2 separate regions of the Homo sapiens genome follow, and region 1 is linked to region 2. Evidence: promoter capture Hi-C in 16 types of primary human blood cells and fetal thymus (Javierre and others, 2016). All regions are on one chromosome and are shown on one strand. The core of a region is centred on a gene start or on the middle of the fragment in contact, and the rest is flanking DNA. Distances in the headings are between cores, read along the strand shown. Region 1 overlaps TRANK1 (tetratricopeptide repeat and ankyrin repeat containing 1). Region 2 holds the start of TRANK1 (tetratricopeptide repeat and ankyrin repeat containing 1).

Evidence for each region. The method cuts DNA at HindIII sites, captures the fragments that hold promoters and counts their contacts. A CHiCAGO score of 5 or more calls a contact.
Region 1: a fragment that was not itself captured here is called in contact with the fragment with the promoter of TRANK1 in region 2 in 4 of 17 cell types (neutrophils, naive B cells, non-activated CD4 T cells and 1 more); the score reaches 5.9 in neutrophils.

What each region holds. Positions count from the first base shown.
Region 1 is chr3:36,830,652-36,834,818 of GRCh38, reverse strand. TRANK1 (tetratricopeptide repeat and ankyrin repeat containing 1) reads left to right here. Exons shown (of 24, transcript NM_001329998.2): 21 at 1-57; 22 at 900-3,946. Among named protein-coding and RNA genes, the nearest start is that of LINC02033, 10 kb to the right of the region's middle. The HindIII fragment of the contact is 1,989 bases long and covers 256-2,244 here.
Region 2 is chr3:36,942,261-36,946,675 of GRCh38, reverse strand. TRANK1 (tetratricopeptide repeat and ankyrin repeat containing 1) reads left to right here and starts at 1,622. Exons shown (of 24, transcript NM_001329998.2): 1 at 1,622-1,889. The coding sequence starts at 1,867. RefSeq lists an enhancer at 1,455-1,524 and a silencer at 1,755-1,974. The HindIII fragment of the contact is 7,723 bases long and covers 1-2,732 here.

The DNA of each region.
Region 1 (4,167 bases), core at 1-2,500, 110 kb after region 2:
ACTCAAAATGTACTGCCAAGAGGAGCTTTTTGAAGAAGCTGCTATTGCAGTGGAAAAGTAGGTGGTTTTATTCTCTCCCTTTCTCCCTCTCTTCCTCCCACTTCTCTCTGGGGGCAGCCTGCTCTGGGTGGTGCTATCCTGCTGCTTCTGACATGGTTTGACCACATTGCTCCCTTTCCACTTAAGCGATGGCCTCAGTGCTGGGTCAGCAGCTCTTTGAGAGCAGGACTCTATTTTCCAGTCTCTTTATAAGCTTTGATGCAGTGTCACAAAGAGAGGGGGCTGAGGGGGATGGGAGTATGTTATGAGTGTGTATATAATGACGTATTCTGACTTCCATCAGCAGAATAAAGGGGAGTCCTTCAGAGCCTCATTAATCTCACAGGAACCCAACTAATGCACACCTGCTAAAAGAGAAGAATCACAAGTTGGGTAATAAGGGGAAGACTGGTGTAATTGCTGATGCATGTGCAGCCCCCATTTCATCCTTTCTCATTTTATCAAACTGAACAGAGTTGTAGACCCAGATGATTATGATGCTTTTATGAGAACCAAAGAGATGTTTTTCAAGGATAATTTAGACTATGCATAACATTTGCCCTATAGATTGACTTTTGGATTTCACTCCCACTTGTTTGAGTTACACCTCCACTATATTTCATTAATTAAGCACACCAATTCCTGATTGAAGCATAAGGAATTTATTCATTATTATTATACTGGTAACAGTGTAAAATAAGGCCTTTGTAAAAATACTTGAATGCTTGACAAGTTTAGGTTTTATTTTGTAATATCTACATGTGGGAGTTTTATTTAAGTTGCTCTGCACTGTATTTTGGAGGAAATTTTCTATTGATTGGGTGATGGCAAGTTGACATTTGTGTCCTTTGTCTTTGCAGGTATGAAGAAATGCTAAAGACTAAGACCCTTCCCATTTCCAAGCTCTCCTATTCTGCCAGTCAGTTTTACTTGGAAGCTGCAGCAAAGTATCTGAGTGCAAATAAGATGAAGGAAATGATGGCTGTCCTCTCAAAGCTAGACATAGAAGACCAGCTGGTGTTCTTGAAGTCTCGGAAACGCTTAGCAGAAGCTGCAGACCTGCTGAACAGGGAAGGTAGGAGAGAAGAGGCTGCCCTGCTGATGAAGCAACATGGCTGCCTCCTGGAGGCTGCCAGGCTCACTGCCGACAAGGACTTCCAGGCCTCATGTCTGCTGGGGGCCGCCCGCCTCAATGTGGCCAGGGATTCCGACATAGAACACACCAAGGACATTCTGAGAGAAGCACTTGATATCTGCTATCAAACTGGCCAGTTGTCTGGCATTGCGGAGGCCCACTTCCTGCAAGGGGTAATCCTGAGAGACTTTCAGAAGCTCAGGGATGCCTTCTTCAAGTTTGACACGCTCAACCACTCAGCTGGAGTGGTGGAAGCACTCTACGAAGCAGCCAGCCAGTGTGAGGCCGAGCCTGAGAAGATTCTGGGCCTGGCTCCAGGGGGCTTGGAAATCCTCCTCAGTCTGGTCAGGGCTCTCAAAAGAGTGACCAACAATGCTGAGAAGGAAATGGTCAAATCTTGCTTTGAGTTTTTTGGGATTTCCCAGGTGGATGCCAAGTATTGCCAGATAGCTCAGAATGACCCTGGGCCCATATTAAGAATAATTTTTGACCTGGATTTGAACTTGAGAGAGAAAAAAACAAAAGATCATTTTTTGATAATGACTGACCAAGTGAAATTAGCCCTAAACAAACACCTTTTGGGCAGGCTGTGTCAGATCACACGGAGCCTGCTTGGGAAGACCTACCGAGGAGTCTGCATGAGGTTTATTGTAGGCTTAAAATGTGAGGATGAAAACTGTGAACATTTTCACAGGCCTCTGCGGCGTTGTGAAGCCAAGTGTTTAGTTCAGTCGAAAATGAACTTGGTGGCAATCAACGGGTTGCTTTTGGAAGCCAAAAAAGTATTCCCTAAAATCTTAGCAGAAGAACTTAAAGAAATTGATTATATTTTGTCTACAGATATGTATGGCCTTTGCAAGTCCATTCTGGATGTCCTTTTCCCTAAGCATTTCCATCAGAGAGTGTTGTCAGAAAACCCCATGGCATGCAAAGAAATCCTCAAACCAAATTACAAATCCTTCCGGTTCTACAGATTTGCTTTGAAGGAGTACATCCACTTTCTGTTTGAAAATGAAAGCGCACGCAACCGCCGGGAATCCACAGACCTGTGGCTGAGTGCCATGCAAGCTTTCCTTCTCTCTTCCAACTACCCGGAGGAGTTTGAAAAGCTGCTCCACCAGGAGGAGGACAACTACAACAGGGAACTCAAAGCTCTAGAGTCTGAAAAGGATGAAAGGGGCAGGGGGAGAGGCAGCAGGATAAAAGGAATAGAAGGGAAATTTGGCATGCTGGCACCCAACAGGGATGATGAAAATATGGACAAGACCCACCTGTGCTTCATCCGGCTTCTGGAGAATTGCATTGATCAATTCTACGTGTACAGGAACCCAGAAGACTACAAGAGGCTCTTTTTCCGTTTCATGAATGTCCTCATCAAGAGGTGCAAAGAACCACTCATCCCCAGCATTGGAAACACAGTAGCCCTCCTGGAGTTCCAGTTCATCCACTGTGGGGTGGTGCTGGCCCGCCTCTGGAAGAATGTCATTCTATGCCTCCCCAAGAGCTACATTGCACTCTTGCACTACTGGGAGTTCCTGTTTAGCAAGAAGGACAAGGAGCTTGGGGATGTGTTCTCCATCATTCAGGAATACAAACCCAAGGACGTGACAAGAGCCATTCAGGATTTCCGGTTCCATCTCTCCTACCTCGCCAAGGTGCTATGTGGCTATGAGAATGTGAACTTCAACGTCCTGCTTGATGCCTTCAGTGAAATAGACTATGTGGTCTCGGGTGAGGCTGAGCGGACACTGGTGCTGTGCTTGGTGATGCTAGTGAATGCTGAGGAGATCCTGCAGCCATACTGCAAGCCTCTCCTGTATCGCCACTTCCGGGAGATTGAGTCAAGGCTGCAGCTCATGAGCATGGACTGCCCTGGCCAGGTTCCCGAGAGGCTCCTGAAGGTGGTGAAGCGGGTCTTGGTGGCAGTCAATGTGAAGTCTGTGGCTGAGGCACTGCAGGACCTGCTCTTTGAGCGGGATGAAGAGTACCTAATGGACTGTGACTGGCGGTGGGACCCTGTGCACACCAAAGGGTCCATAGTCCGTGGCCTCTATTATGAGGAGGTCAGACTAAACCGCCTGCTCTGTTTGGACCCTGTGGACTACTTTGCTGAACCTGAGTGTGAGTTTGGCCAGGATGAGATGGATGAACTGGCATTAGAAGACCGAGACCACGTCCTGGCCACCATTCTTTCCCAAAAGCAACGGAAGGCCTCCATACAGCGGAAGTTGAGGAGGGCATGCCTGGTGGTGTCTCTGTGCATCAGTTGGAGGAGAAGAGTGGGCACCCAGATGGAGCGTGTCAGGGAGGAGGCCAGGGAGCCCAGGGCTGGGAACTTCAAAAAGGCAGACGTGGACAGGACCCAGTGTGACCTATGTGGAGTGAAGTTTACCCGTGGCCCAGAGAACTATTTCAGCCCCAGCAAAGCGTTTGAGGGGGCAGCTTCCGAGGTGGCAGTCCTTTCCAGGGCTGAGCTGGAAAGGGAGGAGTGTCAGGAGAGGAACAGCGAGTCTTACGAGCAGCATATCCATCTAGAACACCACCAGAGGCAGCAAGTGGCCTACCAGAAATACTCAGAATTTTTCCACGAGAAGGTGGACCCGGCCATTGATGAAGGCAAGCTGGTGGTGCAGGACATCGAGCAAAGTGTATGGATCCACAGTCACGTGGGCTCCAAGGAGCACAGCCACATGCTGCAGAAGGTCCAGGAGCACATCAAGAGGGTTTCGGATATGGTGGAGGACCTCTACAGGCGGAAGGCCTGGGCTGGCGGTAAGGGTCTGCAGAGATGGGGGCCCAGGCAGAGTGAGACCTGGGCTCTGAGGACATTTCTCAGGGTTAAATTCCTTGTCGTGGCTTCTGACTTGGGGATGGTGGAATCTTGGCCTTAGAAGAAATACAAATGAGGAATATATATTCTCAAGTTATAGCGAACCTCATTGGTTGGATTACCCCTCCCCCAGTTAAAAGTTTGTCATTATCCTTGGCTTGGG
Region 2 (4,415 bases), core at 373-2,872:
TTTGAGACCAGCCTGTCTAACATGGTGAAACCCCGCCTCTACTAAAAATCTAAAAAATTCAGCCGGGCAAGGCGGCGGGCACCTGTAATCCCAGTTACTCAGGAGGCTGAGGCAGGAGAATCACCTGAACAACAGAGTGAGACTGTCTCAAAACAAAAACAAAAACAAAAATTCCTGACGCCCATGTCAATTAGACAATTTGGGAGTAAAAGCCAAACATACGCATATTTTTGGGTTTTTTTTTTTTTTTTTGTATTTTTAGTAGAGATGGGGTTTCTCCATGTTGGTCTGGCTGGTCTCAAACTCCCGACCTCAGGTGATCCGCCTGCCTCAGGCTTCCAAAGTGCTGGGATTACGGGTGTGAGCCACCCGCCCGGCCTTGTTTTTGTTTTTAAGCTCCCCAGGTGATTCTATTGTGTAACTAAGGTTGGGAAGCACTGCAGTATAGAGTTTGCATGAGGAAGCTAAGATTGGAAATGTGGGGCAAGATTGTGAAGAAGAATCTCAAATGCCCGGGTACCTAACCTGATCTCTAGGAGACAATGGAGTGCCACTGATGGCTTTTGAACTGTACGTGATTCATCCTGATGTTTGGGGAAGATCAATGCACAGAAATCTCTGTGAGATTCTAGAAGCAAGGAGACCACTAGCTAGACTGAGACTAGTTCACAACGCAGAATGACCAGTGGAGAGAAGTATACTGTGTGCCTTAGGTGTGTCCACGTGTTACCAAAGCCTCTCTGTTTCGCTGAAATGTGTGGTCCCCCTCACTAAAGCTCTGGTGGTGTCCTCCCTGCCACCAGGCAGCCTGGTGTGGTGGTCCCCCAGAAGGATGGGCGAACCACCGGGATGCAGTGTAGGCCGAACCTTGCCCCAGGGGAGGGCGGCGGGCTTAGCTCTCTGATTGGGTGGATTCTCTGGTGTGTAGGAAAGTACTCCCAGGCCCAGAGAAGCTGTGAAGACCAAACCGGCTCCCTAGGCCGAGAACCGCTGGGGAGGTAGCAGCCAGAGGTGGTCCTCTCCGACCCACTACTCTGTCGATCATCACTGGGGAGGTGGAAAGACAAGGCAAGATCCTCATTTTGTTGCCTGCTCAGGCCTGTGCGCACTTACTCTCCATGGACACGACGGTGAGCGTGGAGCAGCCCGCGGTCTCGCTGCCCCCTTCACTCCCGGACCCCCAGCCTCCCCAGAGTGGAGGGGCAAGCACACAGTAAGTACTTGATATTCGCCCGACTCCTGAGCTCCTCATCTGTAGGAGCTAGGGGGCTTGTTCTCCGTACGTCCTTTGTTGGAGGGAGGAACGAGGGAAGGAGAAAACCCACGCTGAGGCCGTTGGCCGATCACTTTCTTTACCTCCCGGACAACATTGATGGGCCCCACTAAGGAAAGCCGAATTCTCGCATGCCCGAGGAGTGTCGGAGGTGGTTGTGCGCCTAGTCCCTCCTGGTAAAGGGTTCGAAGCACTCGTTTATTCAAAGGCGGCCGAGAGCCATACCATTTGCTTGCATGACGGGAGACACCGAAACGCCCCTTTTGAACGCGATGACAAACACCTCCTCCCACTCAGCAGCGACGTGCACGTGACAGTTTTTGGGCTCTCGCAACTACGTGGAAACTTGGAATAGGTCTGCGGCTGCACACCGCCCGGACGCCGGGGTTCCTGCGTCCCCCGCCCCCTCTGATCGCGGCTGGGTAGCCGAGCCGCAGGCAGCTGGGGGCCCCCGAACGCCGCCTCTGCATCGCGCCGCCCCTGCCCCGGGCTCCGGTAGCTTTCGGGCTTCCGCACTGCCCGCCGCGCCCTGCCCACAGGGAAGCGCTTCCCCAGGCGGCGGCGGTCCTGGTGCGGACCCTCCGGCCGCAGCCATGTGGGACCCGCGGGCAGCTAGGTGCGTAGCGGCGCGGGAAGCACTGGGGCATCTCTGGCCTTCCGGGCCCGCCACCCTTCCTGGCGGGAGGCGGCCGCGCGCGGGGACTGGCGACCCTGAGGTAGCGGCCGAACGGGCCCGCCCGGCCATCCCTGTGGGGCCCACAGCCATCTAGGTGCAGACCCGAGCCAGTTGCGCGGGGTCGGTCGCGGGGGACGGCTTCGGCCTTTTCGGTCCGGAGGGACCAGGGCACGCGCTGCGACAGGACTGCGGCGGCGCGCGGCCTGCCTAGCTCCCACCCCGGCATCGAAGCCGCAGCTCTCGGGCCCACCTCCGCATCCTCAGGGGTTCCCGGGGGCTGCCGACAGGTTCCTGACCAGCGAGCGCGCCCCCGGGGCAAGCATTCTTGGCGGGCAGAAACCTGGGAGCGGAGCACAGCGGTGCAAGGGAACCGTGCCAGGCGGGAAGGGCGGAATTTGCGGGGAACTTGGAGCGCGCTGGCCTCTTCCCGGCAGTAGGAGGCCTTCTTCCCTGCCCGCCCGATTGAGGGCTGCTGGGCTGGCTCAAACTGGACTGCACGGTCCATCAGCCTGGGCTCACCGAGTCTAGGGGGAAGGTAGTAGTAGGGACCCAAGGCTGGGAAGCGGAGCCCTTAGAAGCCCTTGCTTCTGCCTCGGAGCGTTTCCGAACCGGAGCTCGGAGTCTGTTGCCTGGGAGGCGCGTTGCGTTTCCTCCCAACTCCCTGTCTCCGTCCCGCGGGGAGCCCTGTGCACTTGCAACCCGGCTGAGATAGAGCCCATCTTTGAGGTGCAGCTCAAGCCACCTTTTCTCCCAGATCGGGGTGTTTCTGGGCAGTTGAAAGCTTTGGTGCTTCCTAGGAAAATTTTTATGGAAGTGTGCAATTTGGAAAATAAAAGAAAAAAAAATTTAAGAAGCAGAAAGAGAATGGGGCTCTGAGGTCTCTAGTTCCCCTATCTGCTCCAACCCAGTTGCTGCTGGCTCAGTTAGTCCTTATGCGGGAAGGAATAGCTGGGATTAAAGCCTTGTGTTCCCAGCGTAGGTATGCGCTCCTGCTCCCTCGTGCTGAGCGTTTTGGGTTCCAGGATCCTTTTTGATATAAGGCTGTTATCCGGATGGCATCCTGTTTGGTCCTTTATAGAAAAAAAAAAAAAGTACTACGGTGTGTGTGTGTTGGAGGGCGGGGACGGTGGTCAGGAGTTTGTTTCAACTGTTTTCCAGGCAGGTCTGTTTTGTAGGATTGCAGGATAGGTGCTTGAGTTCATATGCTCTTTGTTGGCTTTTGCATCCTCTGCGGGGGGTGGGGGGGTGGGTAGAGGTGGGATAGGTGTGTGTGGCATTCACTCCCAGAGTCGCATCCCACTGCCACTGGCCTATGTATGGGTTTCTAGGTCTTTTTTCGATCAAGACCCACACCCACCCACCTATATGTATATAATGTATATATGCATAATATGTGTGTAATATTATATATACATATATACGCACACACACATACACATGTAAAATTGCAGCAAGAGCTTCATGGTATAGTTATTCTTTCTACAGGGTGAGGCACAATGATATTTTCCATTCTATTCCCTCCCCCCACCCCCCACCAGAGGGATTCTCGCTCTGTCACCCAGGCTGGAGTGCAATGAGGCGATCTCGGCTCACTGCAGCCTCCGCCTCCTGGGTTCAAGCGATTCTCCTGCCGCAGCCTCCGAAATAGCTGGGATTACGGGGGGCCGGGGGTGGGGCGCCACCAAGCCTGACTAATTTTTGTATTTTTAGTGGAGACGGTGTTTCGCCATGTTGGCCATGCTGGTCTCAAACTCCTGATCTCAAGTGATCCACCCGCTTCTGCCTGCCAGAGTGCTGGGATTACACGCCAGAGCCACCACGCCGGCCCATTCTATGTTTTTTTTTTTTTTTTAAAGCGGGTCATAAATTGTTAACTTCACTTTATGACCGACTGACCAGCTTTATGGGGCAACTGCAGGTTCTGTTTCCGCCGCTCTCCCAGAGTATGAGGAGACCGTCAGCATTTCACAGGGGAGTTGACTTTGGAAGTGAGGACTTGGTGTAGGAGTGATGAAGTAGACTGAAATTCATACTTGAGTGATAGAATACTGTAGGACATGGCTGTGTGGTTCAAGCCAGTACCATCTACAAAGACAGACCGCAGATGCTTCTGGTTACTTTGGTTCTGGCTATGTGTCCACAGAGAGCTGGCCTCCTGCATGGATCCCAGTGGGGCCTGGTGTAAATGCTAGGGAGGTAGGGGCATAATAGCTCCTGTTCTTTTTTTTTTTTTTTTTTTTTTTTGAGGAAGAAGAAGGGAAGATGCTGCAACCCTACTGCAGCCTTGGATTCATAGTTTTCTAAAAGGATTCTTTGGGTCTTGTCTCAGAATTTCACAGCTGCAATCAAGAGCTGGACCACGATCATTTTATAGATGAAGAAATTAAGGCCCAGAAAGGCCATCACTTGTTAGTCATTACCAACGAGTTAGTGTTAGATCTGGGATTAGACAACTTATCTCTTGAC